Linked DNA regions of Homo sapiens: all the other regions are linked to region 1. The links are contacts of gene promoters, found by promoter capture Hi-C in blood cells and fetal thymus (Javierre and others, 2016). All regions are on one chromosome and are shown on one strand. The core of a region is centred on a gene start or on the middle of the fragment in contact, and the rest is flanking DNA. Distances in the headings are between cores, read along the strand shown.

Region 1 (2,652 bases), core at 80-2,579:
AAAACCAAAAAGACCGTGCGTTCTGTTACCTGTGATTTGTGGTGTCACCTACTCTTTGAGGCTCCCAGATGGCCCAGGGCCTTAGGATATGGGGATGCCTTGTAGGTGTGTTGTTGTTGGAGTTGGTGGCTGGGATGAGGGTGGAGGCAGGGTAGGGTGGGGGTGGGTTGGGGTGGGGGGAATCCTCCGTTAATATCTCGAAATATTGTTCTGTTACCATAATGCGGTGTGATAAGTTAGCTTCAAGTATTGAAAAATCAGGGCAGGACTCATGGAAATGGTGCGAATTCTTGACTTAGGGTCAGAAGAATTCACCAAAATTAACGTCTCCCTCTGCCAAATAACAGCCAGTTTCAATTTCTGGACGGCCTCTCCGCGGGAGTGACAGGTTTTCTTAGATGCCGCCGGGGGTCTTTCACGGGCTGGTGGTCTGCCCCCTGGACTCGTCCATGTGTTAGGCTCAGTCCGCAGCTCAGAGCGCGGCCCTGTATTTCTGTCTGATGTCTGGGGCATACAGATGTGTGTGACGGACAATGCTCGTGGCATTCGAAGCCTCTTTAACAGACATTAGTGACTAGAGGAAAGAAGTGTGCGAACTCTGCGAAACAAGTATGCGGACTCTGGAAAAGAAGTACATTTCGAAAGTGGGGAGAGGATGGATCTTCGTAGGAGAAATGGAAATTTGCTCCCCACCAGAAGGTTTGCTGGAAATTAAGACGCGGCAATTCTTAATCCAGTTTCCTGCGGTAGGAAGCAGCTGACAAGAGAAGTCCCAGTCCGAGTTCGGCGCGAACTGGACAAGTGTCGTGGGACAAGTGGCGGGAGACCCGGCCGCGTCGCGCCGGGCGCTAGGGACGGACGCATTTCCCTACTTCCAGCAGCTGGTACGAGCCGCCCCCAACTGCGCTGCGCTGCTCTATTCTTTGGGAAACACTTCGCGTGCTTTGTTTCAGACGCCGACCCATCTTTCTTGGTGGGTCTCCAGCTCCACCAATCCCGCCCGCCACTGGGCGGGGTTTCAGGGTCAAGGTGGACCAATTTCCCAGCTTCGCCCCTACACGCGCTCTCGGACCCCTGGGGGTGACTGACAGCAGCCGGGCCCAACCCGCTGCTCCGGAGCATGGCCTCCGCCAGGGGCGTTACGGAGACAAGGCCCCAGGACCAATCGTATTGGCCAGTGGGGGGCGGGGCCTCGTTGCCAGCTCCAGACCGGCGCTATGGGCACTCCTTTTGTCAAATGAGAGACGCAGCAGGGCGGCCCCTGAGCCGCGGTTTAGCCAATGGAGAAGGCGAGATGGGCGGGCTGGGAGTGCCCGGCGGCGGGTCCTCAGCTTCGAGCCGAGGTGCAGTGAGCTGGTGGGGGGACCGCGAGGCGAGCGCGGGAGCCTGGGCGGCGAGCCGGGTGTGAGCTGCCTGAAAATGCACTCGGATGCCGCCGCTGTCAGTGAGTAGCAGAGAGCCAGCCAGCGGGCCGGGGCCGGGCGGCTGCCAAACTCGCCACTCGGCTCCCGCAGTCCCCGCCCCACGCCTCGGGTCCCGAAACGCGCCGGGAGCCCCTGCCTGGGAACCACCCCTTCCCCTCCCGGGGCCGGGGCGGGCGGTGACGCTGCGGGCGGCGTGGGGCGGGGGCGGGCGTGGGGGGAAGGGACCGGCCTGCGGGGAGGGCGGAGGTGAGGGGGGTGGGGACTGGCTCTCTTTCAGTGTTGGGGGAAGGGAGGGCTGGACGTGCGATGAAGGGCCGAGATCGGAGTGTCCGGGGTGCATGGAGGTGGAGGCAGCGTTGGGCTGTAGCGGGCAGGGCCGGGGATGTGGGGGGGTGGCACCGGCGGGGAGAGGGAGGGAGCGAGCGAGCGAGCGGGGCACAAGGGTGAGGATTTCCAAAGGGCTGAGTGGTGCGGGCGGCTCCGTGAGAAAGGCGGGTGAGTGCGAGGGGGGCGCGGGGGCGGGGACAATGGGAAGAAGGGCTGGTTGGCGGGGGGGTGGGGGGGGGGCGGCGAACAATGGGGTGGGGGAATGGGGGCAGCGGCCGAGCGGGGCAGGAGGGCGGGCGACTGGACGAGGGCTGATGTAACGGGAAAGCGAGGTGGTGGGAGGGACTGGGGTGTAATGGTAGTTGGGGAGTCCTGCGGGGCGGGAGGGGCGTTGGAAGGGCGGTGGGTAACGGAGAGTGGTGGGAGTGGAAGATGTTGGGGTAAAGAGATGGGGCAGGTGTGGAAGGGTAGGGCGATTGGGAGGAAGAGGAGAAAAAGGTGGGTAGGATTTGGGGTGGCAGAGTGGGGGCAGGGGTGGAGAATATGAAATGGGGGTGAGGAGCTAGTCGGGGAGGAAGGGGAGGTGGGGCGGAGTTGGGCAGGAGGACTGTCACGTCCAGATTCGGTCCGGAGCCGGGCTAAGGGGGTGTCAGACTGTGCTTAGGGGAGGTACTTCCTCTCCCTGTCGAGGCAGGGTCCCTTGAAGGGGGGAGTCCAAGCTTCGGGGTGCGGAGAGAGGAGGGGGCGGGGCTGAGGTGGAGGAGACGGGGTAAGTGCCCTAAGGTTGGAACTGGCCGTGGTTCCCCCCGGACGGCGGGAAGCGAGGTCAGCGCTGGCGCGGGCTCCGGCAGCGGGACTAGGAGGCGGGGCAGGGGTGCGGGCTGCGGGGTTTCAGCAGCGG
Region 2 (2,652 bases), core at 52-2,551, 1.5 Mb after region 1:
TCATGTACTTCTCTCTAGAAGGGTACTTGTTTGACATCTGGTTTTTAACTTTAAGTCACAATCCCTTCTTGCTTGTTAACACCAGATTTGAAAGTTAATGTTTGTTCCTTGCCTAAAACATATATTCTTGATTGTCTTTAGAATAGAATAGTAAAAGTGCACTTTGGGCACCATGCAGGTCCTTGATGATGTGACTTTGATAAACTTGTAAAAAAAAATCGTTTGGTGGCAAGATTTAGCATTAGTTACTACTCTTTGAAATGTGAATGTGTAGGATTTCTTTTACAAAGATCTGGAAATCTTCATTACCTCTTAAATTTAAGCTTATTTTTATAGCAGTAAAGTCTGATTTTTTTTTCCATAAAATAAGTATCTTGTTAAGTAATTATAAGGTGATCTAACTTTGGATGTGCTTATAGGCCCATGGGACGTGCATGTGCACAGTGATTTGGCAAAGGACCTAGGTTAGTGCTTGTGATGATCACTTCAGATTTTCATAATACTAGTTTCTTTAAGAGTGGTTTCTTTATTTTGTTTGCTTATTTATTTATTTGTTTATTTTACTTGGTAGATGAAAATGAAGTTGAAAGGCCAGAAGAAGAAAATGCCAGGTTAGTGAAATTTTCTGTTGATGCCTATTACACAGGTTGTGTGAAACAATGGTTCTGTCAGTTGTCAAAATTATTTTCTTACAATCATTGGCTTCATTACAACACTGACTTACAACATTTTGGAGGACATTGAATCCTTTAAGGATTATTCCAGTTTCAGGACCTAATCTTACGCCAATTCTATTTGTTGGTAGTTTAAAGGACAAAGTTTTTGAACTTAGGATTGGACTGATTTTACACTGTTAAGTAACTTGTTACTCTTAAGTGAATTCAGTAGTGAAGTATACAGTATAATCGTTAAGCTACTGATAAAAATATTTTAACTTAATTGAAAATGTTTTTAAGTAAATCAGGAACACTCCAAACTACTGCTTTTCCAGTTTATTAACATTTTTGATGATATAATGGCAGTTTGGTTGTAATTTCAATGCTATGTATTGTTTGCATTCAAAATGTAATTAGCTGATTTGTTATAAGGTTGATTTCTTTGTTAGATTGTAAGAAAGATGTAAGTGTTCATTTATAGAACATATACAGGGAGTCAGAATTTTACCCCAGATTTCAAAAAGCAAGCCATGTAAAGAAGTACATGGAGATGTCGGCTTTACCCTGACCACATGCATTAGTGTCTGTAATGGAGGGAGAGGTAGTTAGAAGATTTTAAGGAATATTTGGGTTTAAAAAGTGGAAGATATACAACTTCATACCGAGTAAGCTGCAATCGAAAAGATAAAACAGGTGTTAGTGAGGATATGGGGAAATAAAACCCTCATACACTTCTGGTGGGATTGTAAAATGGTGCAGCTGCTTTGAAGAACAGCCTGGCCATTTTCTCAAATGGTGAAACATGGAGTTACCATGTGAGTCCTCCACCTTAGAGGAATGAAAACATATTCAGACAAAAACTTGTACGTGAATATTCATAGCAGCATTATTCTTAATAGAAAGTGGAAAAAGAAAACCTCGCAGCTGCATCAACTGATGAATGGATAGATTAAATGTGTTATATCCATACAGCGGAATATTATTTGGCAAGGACAATAAAATGAAGTACTGGTAGATGTTACAACACGGATGAACCTTACAAATGTGGAAGCTAAAGATGTCAGTCCGTAGAGACAGATTAGTGGTTACTAAGAGTTGGGTGAGTGATTGCTAATGTATACAAAGTTCCTTTTGGGAGTGATGCATACATTCTGGAATTAGATAGTTGTGATGGTTGGACTATGTGACCATATTAAAACTCAGTTGTCCTGTTTGAATGGGTAGATTGTATAATATGTGAATTGCATCTCAAAGCTGTTACAACAAAAAATGGATAGAGGGAAAAAGTGAGAAATGGAAGTAGAAATAGCTTAGGAGGAGCTGAAACTACAGTTCAGCTTCCTTACCCAAAAAATCCCCTATAGTCTTTTCACTCATTGGTATATTATCTGAAATGTTATTTCATTTTAAAATTTATATATTCAACTCAGTTCCTAATTCTGATCTCAACCACAAAGTTGAGATTAGTTTTAGTTTATGTTATGAAAGTGATTGAATATTTCTTTGTACCCATTCCTTCAGTTGGTCAAGAAATTAATTACAGGTATAGTTTTACAATCAAATATACTTTTCTATATGATAATCTTTATCCCATTAATTTTTATTTTTATTGGTTACAATTTTAAAAGCTTACTTTCTAATCAAACATTCTTTAATTTTAATTCCGCAATACACAACTTGCTAAAATTTATTGGAGGGAACCTTCTACCTTCCCTGAGTGTCACTGTCAACATAGCTTTATATTCCTTTCTGCAACTTCATTTGGGGAGCCGTTGAGTTGATTTCATCCTATGGGGGAAAAAACAATTTCCTTTACAGTGTTATTTTTCTAGAAAAAGCTTAAAATTTTATCATGTTTCTAACATTTTAATGGTGATAGAAAATTAAAACTTCCAAAAGAGTAGGCCTATTGAAGAAAGGTACTCTGCCAGACCTACTGCTATCTGGCTTGGTACATCATTGCATTGCTCTACCAAAGTTCCTGCTATTAGAATTT
Region 3 (2,652 bases), core at 55-2,554, 1.2 Mb after region 1:
AATAAATAATGGAAGAACTTAAATAATTCCTTTCACTATAAATGTCACCTTGTACCCTTGCAGACAATTCTCCCTTTCCTTCTTGAAAATTCCTTCAACTGTGAGAATATTTCCTTTTTTATTACTTGGGATTTTGCCATGTGGCTTTTTTTCCTCATTCATTCAATTAGTCAACGAAAATCATTTAGCTGTTATGTTCTAGAGGTTGGTGGGGAGATAGTCTCTACAATTTCTGTCAAAACTACTCATGAGTACTCTTCAAAATCTTAATATTATGTGAAATGTTGGCAGTAATAAGGTAGTTTTATAACATTTATTATATGGCTTCTGAGAATAACTTTTGCTGGAACGTCCTCTGAGATCATTAGGCCCATCTCCTCATTTATAGATGAGAAATCAGGCTCAAGGGCAGATCCCAGACTGTATATCTCCTTATTAAAAAATAGTTTTTTAAATTCCAAGAAGCTTCACATGTTTACCACTGAAGGAAAGGTATTATTGCTTGGATTCCGTGCAGGGGAGGGATTTTATAGTCCTCCCATCTTATGAAAAGGCTTCAGTATAAAATAAAAAGGGTCAACTAAAAAATATCTGGTATTTTGAAGTCCCATACAGAGATGCTATATGAGAGAGCAACTTGGAATTAAATTAACTAATTTGAGTTAACTCATCTTTATTAAGCCTGAGGTGCTGAGCATGTGTTGGGTCCCGGAGAAAAACAGACATACACCCTTTGCCATGTGCAGGGGATGCAGGGAGGTAAATGGGTGGACCTGTTTACATTATGGTATGGTAGGCGCTATGATGTGGAAGTGCAGAGTGCTATGAGACAGAGGAGGCTTCCTCCAGGGTGAAAGGAGTTGGTATGGAGATGGAGTGGCAGTGATTGTTCCAGGCAAAAGAAACAACTTGTATAAAAGCCTGGAAAAGAAAGTTTCAGAGTTTTTGTGAAAACAGTGTTAGTTACGCACTGAAGGGGAGGTTAGAAAGGGATTATAGTCAGAGTCTCTGATTTTCACTGGCCACACCTAAAATCCATGTGTTCCTTACTTGCCTTGTCCAAGTTGACATTTTTAAGTGTGGTATGTAACATTTATTTGTACAGTTATTCTTCCCTGTCATCCAAGACACTATTCTTAGTTTTCCTTTGCAATACACAAAGGTGATTCACTCACCTTGAGAAGGCCCTGAATTCAGCTTATTCAGCATTTATCAAGAACCTCATAGGCACAACCCTCTCCAAGTGCTGCCTCAGCCCTCTGTGTTTATAGTCCTTGTTATAGCACAGATCACATGATATTAGGGCTCCTTGGGCTCCCCCGTGAGCTCCAGGAAGGACTGTCTTAGCCACCTCCAGAACTCCAGCACAATGCCAAGCATATAACAGGAGATAAATGCTTCTTGAATAAATACACGAGCTTGGTGGGATATACCTCAATTCTTAAAACATACTTAAATGCACCTTTTGAAAAAAACAGTGTCCTACATAGCTTGCTTTGGTACAGACGGTAAGGGGACAACCAAAAAATGGTTAGAGAATCTCTATTTTGTGAAAAACGCATTAACTCAGCATTCCCTGTTATAAGGGTACATAGAAATATTTTTGAATTTATAATATCCACTAGAACGTTTTACTGGTGTAGTACTTAGTAGCAGTTGTTTTGAATAAAAACTAGACATTACAAGGTAATGATTTAGCAAAACAAACCAAAAGTCAGTGAGTCAGGAGGAGAAAAGGCACTGTGTTAAAATGACCAGCTGTATTACAGGGTCTGCTATTTGCTACATCAGTTTCTCATTAAGCAAAGCTCACTATATTTAAGGTAATTTTAACAGAGTAAATACAAAAAAACACAGTAATAAAGACTAACCATATACTTGGATGGTCAGGACACAGGCCAGGATTATGGATTTTATTCTTCTGATCCACCACAGTTGGTCCTAAAACACCTGTCATTCATCTAGTGTTACTGGGGACCTGCTATTTGCCAGGCACTGTGCTGTGCATTGAGAATACAAAGGTAAGACAGCAGCTCTGCCCTGAAGAATTTTTAGTAAGGAGTACAGGAAAATATGCAAAAAAACAAAAACAAAACCCAAAAAACAAAACGAACCTTTGGAAGAAGCAGCAGGAGAATCAGGGCAAGCTTCCCAGGAGAAGCAAAATCTCTCAAACGCACGTTGTCAGTCATCAGGCGGTTCAGATAAGACTTTGAAAACTTATCAGCACACGTCTTCCATCACTATTAGAAAAATAACTTGAGTGTACCCAACCCCAGTTTATCTTCCAAGTTGGTAACACATATCTATGTGTTCCTGGAAGCTTTGACCATATGGCATGGTCAAATAATATATTTATTAAAATATATTCTACCTTTAAAACTGATTAAGTTTGGGGAGAAGAGAAATAGCAAATTGATAAACGGTCTTCTGTAGTAACATGTTTGAGCCACAACGAGGCGCTCTGGATTCAAGAATGAGTGGGCTTCTCTTATTGTACAGTCTCTTCTCTATGAGGGGCTTTCAAAGAACAAAATGCATTTATCTAACATCAGGAAGGCCAGCAGCTCTTGTAGGAAGGCAGATGTTTGTCCTGTACAAAGTACAGATGTTTTTGACTGAAGTTCCAAAATAAATCTTATTTGTGGAAGA
Region 4 (2,652 bases), core at 111-2,610, 1.0 Mb after region 1:
TGGGGGTAGTTTGATGGAATTCTTTGTTATTGGGATCCCATTGTAATGGAGGGGTGGCATAAACAGAGCCATCTGCATAGGGCCCGGCCTGCTAGGGACAACTCTTGGCTGATGTAGCCTGGAGTGCTTCCAACCACTTGGCCGTGCCCATGCCCGCTATGTCTGCCCTGAGGTAGACTCCAGAAGAGGGTTTACAAAGGCAGGAGTCAACTGCTACAAAGTATTTACACTTCTATCAATTATGTTTATAAGGAGTGTGGCCAGTGAGGTCGCTGGCAGAAGGTTTGGATTTGTAAGTGCTTGTTTAGGTGATAAACACTCAGACCCAGGCCCCAGACAGGGGAAACCAGTCTTATCACTCAGCTCAGCCTTTTAAGTCACCATCAGGTGGTTGACAGCTGCTGGATCCCTTTCGAATGGATACATTTGGAGGGGTTGAAATGGGAAATCAGTAAGTCCATCTCAGATTCTGCCTGACTTCGTGGCTAGCATTAGTGATAGAGAAAGTTCTATCACAGACATATGGCCCTGCATGAGCAATCATCAGACATTTATTACCAATAAATTCTTATGTGCTCTGTATGAGCCCACCATGTGCCATGTTCCAAATGCATCACACATATTAACTCTTTTAATTCTCCCCCAACCTAATGTGGCAGGTCCTATTGTTACACAACTGCATGGTCAGCGAAGACCAGGAGAGGTGGACTACGAAGTGGAAGAGGTGGGATTGGAATCCAGCCATCGGATTGGGCTCTTGACCTCTGGGCTATGCTGTCTTGGACCTATGTTGGACCGAGTTGTTATTCCTCCTCCATTTTCTCATCTCCTTGTAGACCCCATGAATGCCTCCAAATTTCCTCTTCATTTAGTATTATTCTCCTGTTGACGTTTTATAGTTTTGAGAGGTAACTTCCTTGGCGTCCTCAGTGTGAAAACCCACATTCCTTGAGATTCACATGCTGGCCACTGTGTTAGGGATGGCTCCACAGCAACCCCCCCATGAGGCAGGTGCCATAGTTATCGTTTCTTACAGATGCAGACACTGAGGCTTGGAGAGATCCACAGTGCTTGGAGTGGCAGAACTGGGACTTAGGCCCAGAGAAGCCTTCAGAGCCCTTTTCTGCCTGCTGCTCCTTCCGGGGGTGGAGGGCATGACTTGCTTCTCCTCCAGCCTCTCCCATGCTGAGAAGTGTGCCCACGAGCCTGGCAGCAGCAGGGAGTTTCCGGGAGGCTCTGCCATGGCCACAGTCCTCCTTCCCCCAAGCCCCCCTCTTTTTCCTTATTTGTTGGAGGCCCTTTGCAGGATTTATACCAAATGTCTATTGTGTTCCTGCTTGTTAATCAAGGAGCAGTGAACGTCCTGTGCCTCCTGCTTCATCTTCACCCAAACTCTGGTTACGAAGAAATTCTTCCAGCTCACCTTTCCTCCAAAGCCTTCCACCACCTGACCACCGGCCTGGCTCAGCTCCTCAAGCCAGCCTCCAGAGAAGAAAAAGATGACCATAAGCCAAACTTCTGACACTTCTCCCACCATTCACAGACTGCCCCTGACCATACTAATTACAGTATGGGGAGCATTTTCAAGACAAAAGAACTGCTGAATAACATTTACAATCAATACCTTCCTCCTTTCATCATTTCAGATTAGAGGCTTCTGAATTTTTTTTTTTTTTTTTTGAAATGGAGTTTCACTCTTGTTGCCCAGGCCAGAGTGCAGTGGTGCGATCTCGGCCCACTGCAGCCTCTGCCTCCCAGGTTCAAGTGATTCTCTTGCTTCAGCCTCCCTACCTGGGATTACGGGCATGCACCACCACACTCGACTAAGTTTGTAATTTTTTTAGTAGAGACAGGGTTTTTCCACGTTGGTCAGGCTGGTCTAGAACTCCCGACTTCAGGTGATCCACCTGCCTCAGCCTTCCAAAGTTTAATATTTCTTAAAATAAAAAATTAATTTGTAAAAATACAGTTTTCTGCTATGGCCGATTAAAGTCACAAAAGTAATACACAAATACACATTTGCTGTAAAAAAAAATAAAATAATACAAAAGTATACTGAGGGTGAGACTCTCCCTTCTCTTAGCTCTCCCATTCGATATTCCTTCCCAGAAGTACCATTATATATGTATTTCCAGAAAGTTTCCTTTGCATATAGACATGCGGTTTACAACTTCACCTTCAGTAGATGCTCACGTCGGGCCAGACCATCAGAGAAGCGCCAGCTACTCATTCTGAGTGCCAGAGAGTCAGGGACGCATCTTGTTCTTTCATCACAGTGGCCCAGAACCTAGCACAGTGCCTGGAACATGGCAGGTGCTCAGTCATCAATCTTTAGGAATGAATGAAGGAGTACAGATTTGAGTCACGTAACAGGTTACTTTCCAATTTTTTATTTTAGAAAAGTCGTCTCCTCTTTAACATTTCTTACGGATGGCTACCATTAACTTCCTTATTCAAATTCAACACTTTAAGATTAGTAGAATGAAAAAGGCACCTGCGGTCTCCTCTATTTCATGAAAGAACTGATATTATGTGGAAAACATACCTGGGCAAGAAAAGAGTGTCTGTGTCCACAAAAATCCTGCTTTGATTACATCTTAAAATAATCTCCAACTTCATGGTTCTTTCAAAAATGACAGTGTTTTATAGAGA
Region 5 (2,652 bases), core at 101-2,600, 1.0 Mb after region 1:
CTGTAAACACAATGTCCTGCTTGCCTCTCAGCCCTTTGTGCTCTAACCTTTACAGCTTTCACTTCCGCCTCAAACTGGGGGCTTTCTCCAGGCTAAACAAAGGAGAGGGGTTCTCAGCCCCAGAGCAGGAGAGCCAGGCTTCCCTGCTCTTGCGACCACTAACTACTAAGTCTTCCTCTTGTTTTGAGACTAAGCTGCCATTCCCACCACACCCCCTCCTTCCAACCCTCCTCCCCCAAGGCCCTGTCTTGCTTCTCTGTCTGCTGCTGAGTTCCTCTTGAACATGGCTCCAGCTTGGAGTTTGCTAATAGGGATAGGAGGGAAGGAGAGAGGTTTGGAAACTCTGGGGGATCCTATTGTCTGCTACATGGAGAAAAGCTTCCAATGAATGGCTCAAACCGGTCAGTTTTGTGGGAGATGGGAGGATAACACTTTTGCGTTTTCAGGCCTTAGGTCTGTTATCTAAATTCAAGGAAGTGGGAGAGCATAATCTCTTTGACCTTCATTTTCTACTCCAGACACTGCATCTTTATCATAATCCAGATGTGACTAAAGCTGCATCTCCTCCTTAATCTCAGTTTCAAACATCCCTCATGCCCCACATCTTCTACTCCCCTAGCTGGCTTCCTCTAGTTGCTCAACAGAAACCATTCTTTGGCCCTAGTGGGTAGAAGGTCCCATTAAGTTTACTGCCCTCATCTCCCTCCTTTCCTCATTTCTCCAGCTGAGTGTCCACTATCCATGTCTAGAGTCACTTCTTTGCAAAGACCCTCAGCCTCTTTACCTCTCTCTCTTCGTTTATTATCCTGGCAGAACACAATCTAGTCAAATCCTATTCTGTGCCTGCATGCAGGCCAAATGACAAGACCTGAGAAAAATACTCAGCCATGCTGGCTAGTCTCATTTTATGTTCCTGACCACCAATCTCAAGTCGGTCTTGAGTTTGCCCAATAATCCTACCATGTATCCCTCGTTTATTTACGTCCTTCTACCCCACCCTGTGACTGTTTCACACTTTTTCCTCCTTCCTCAACTCCACAACACCTCCTTCCCCATCACCATCTCAGCTGCTGCCCTTGCTTTCTGCTTCACTGAGAGGATGAAACAGTCAGGGGAGAACTTCCGCACTCTCTCCCCATTCGCATCCACCCTCCTTCCGGCTTCAGCATCCACATTCTGACTTCCTCCTGAAAGGGGCAGTGCCAGGGGCAGTGCCAGCTGCATCAGAGCTAAATGTTTTCCTGAAACTGTCAACAAACTTCCACTTCCTCTATTTCATTGGCCAGGACTGTGTTATAATTGTCCTCACTATGATAGAGATTGGGAAATGAGAATTTACCTTTCTTTGCTTCTGTAACAGAATCTGTAAAGGCCCAGGAGTTGGGATTGGCTGTTGGATTAGACAGGTAATCCTGTCTGCCACAAATAGTCTTATTCCCTAAGACTCATTCATGGCAGCAAGGTGGTTTCCTGTATTTAGTACATTCTTTCTCCTGAAGGTTCCCTGCCTCATCAAAGTGTGGGGCCCTCACAGGCACTGTTGTCCTAAGTGAGGGAATGTTTTTCAGCTAAGCTAAGAAGGAGATAGCTATTCCAAGCCTTTTGACTTCCTAACTCTAAGTCTTAACCTTAATCAACACTTTATTAAATTGATCAGACTCAATTCACAACCAAAACATGAGTGTGTGGTTTATGTTTATATTCCTTTCTTCAGGATGTGTAGATAGTTTCTTTTCACTCCCTCAACTACTCATTTATGATGGGAATTGAGATTGGTTTCTAAAAAAACAGAGGCAATGAAACTATACACTAAGCAATGATAAAAGAACAAAGGCTTAGCTAAAGGCCTAGCAATGAAGGTGTGAACGAGTCATACCAGAATATTCAAGATGAGGAATATGGATCCAGTTAAGCATCACTCTTAGGTCTGAGATTCCTGGGAATTGTAATGAATAGTGCATGGTTGTCTTGTAGAATGAAAGGATGGTTTTATGAAGCATCGGCTTGGTTCATAAAATAAATAAGTAAGTTTTGGTCAGGTGCAGTGGCTCAGGCCTGTAATACCAGCATTTTGGGAGGCCAAGGCAGGAGGATTGCTTGAGCCCAGGATTTTGAGACCAGCCTGGGCAACATAGTGAGACCTTGTGTCTACTAAAATTAAAAAAAAATTACTGGGTGTGGTGGCATGTGCCTGTAGTCTCAGCTACTTGGGAGGCTGAAGTGGGAGGATTGCTTGAGCCTGGGAGGTTGAGTGAGCCGTGATTGCACCACTGCACTCCAGCCTGGGTGACAAAGCAATACTGTCTTTCAAAAATTAAAAAGTTAAGCTTTGGCACCTGTGTCTTGGTCAGCTCCTTCATGTCATAAATGCCCGCTGGGAAGGGTCATGGCGATGCATGTATCTGCTGCTGTTGTGTAGAAATCAGTGAGTTGCAGAAGCTCCTCATTGGGGATGAGCTGGGAGATGACCAAAGGAAGCCCTATGAGCTATTTTGAACAATAGTGCGTGCTTACCAGGTATGAGGTGCTGGGAGAGGCAAACACCAAACACACCAGGGACACTGCATTTGTCACATATACCACTGTGGAGCTATTTCTTTTTATCTAGCTAGAAGATGATTTTCAAAAGCTCCTTCATAAGAATTCCTCTTA

Evidence for each region. The method cuts DNA at HindIII sites, captures the fragments that hold promoters and counts their contacts. A CHiCAGO score of 5 or more calls a contact.
Region 2: a contact is called between a fragment that was not itself captured here and the fragment with the promoter of DCUN1D4 in region 1, in 3 of 17 cell types (naive CD4 T cells, total CD8 T cells and total B cells). The highest score is 6.3, in naive CD4 T cells.
Region 3: a fragment that was not itself captured here is called in contact with the fragment with the promoter of DCUN1D4 in region 1 in 1 of 17 cell types (fetal thymus); the score reaches 6.1 in fetal thymus.
Region 4: a fragment that was not itself captured here is called in contact with the fragment with the promoter of DCUN1D4 in region 1 in 1 of 17 cell types (fetal thymus); the score reaches 5.1 in fetal thymus.
Region 5: a contact is called between a fragment that was not itself captured here and the fragment with the promoter of DCUN1D4 in region 1, in 1 of 17 cell types (monocytes). The highest score is 5.4, in monocytes.

Annotation. Positions count from the first base shown.
Region 1 is chr4:51,841,824-51,844,475 of GRCh38, forward strand. DCUN1D4 (defective in cullin neddylation 1 domain containing 4) reads left to right here and starts at 1,330. Exons shown (of 11, transcript NM_001040402.3): 1 at 1,330-1,444. The coding sequence starts at 1,420. RefSeq lists silencers at 1,058-1,207, 1,218-1,267, 1,358-1,707, 1,808-1,887, 2,438-2,557. The HindIII fragment of the contact is 3,870 bases long and covers 1-2,468 here.
Region 2 is chr4:53,378,654-53,381,305 of GRCh38, forward strand. It overlaps FIP1L1 (factor interacting with PAPOLA and CPSF1), which reads left to right. Exons shown (of 18, transcript NM_030917.4): 2 at 420-464; 3 at 572-611. Among named protein-coding and RNA genes, the nearest start is that of FIP1L1, 2.3 kb to the left of the region's middle. The HindIII fragment of the contact is 1,961 bases long and covers 322-2,282 here.
Region 3 is chr4:53,013,351-53,016,002 of GRCh38, forward strand. All of the region lies in intron 5 of SCFD2 (sec1 family domain containing 2), which reads right to left. Among named protein-coding and RNA genes, the nearest start is that of SCFD2-AS1, 87 kb to the left of the region's middle. The HindIII fragment of the contact is 1,682 bases long and covers 464-2,145 here.
Region 4 is chr4:52,870,256-52,872,907 of GRCh38, forward strand. No RefSeq gene overlaps it. Among named protein-coding and RNA genes, the nearest start is that of RASL11B, 9.3 kb to the left of the region's middle. The HindIII fragment of the contact is 3,091 bases long and covers 1-2,652 here.
Region 5 is chr4:52,842,962-52,845,613 of GRCh38, forward strand. No RefSeq gene overlaps it. Among named protein-coding and RNA genes, the nearest start is that of RASL11B, 18 kb to the right of the region's middle. The HindIII fragment of the contact is 1,949 bases long and covers 377-2,325 here.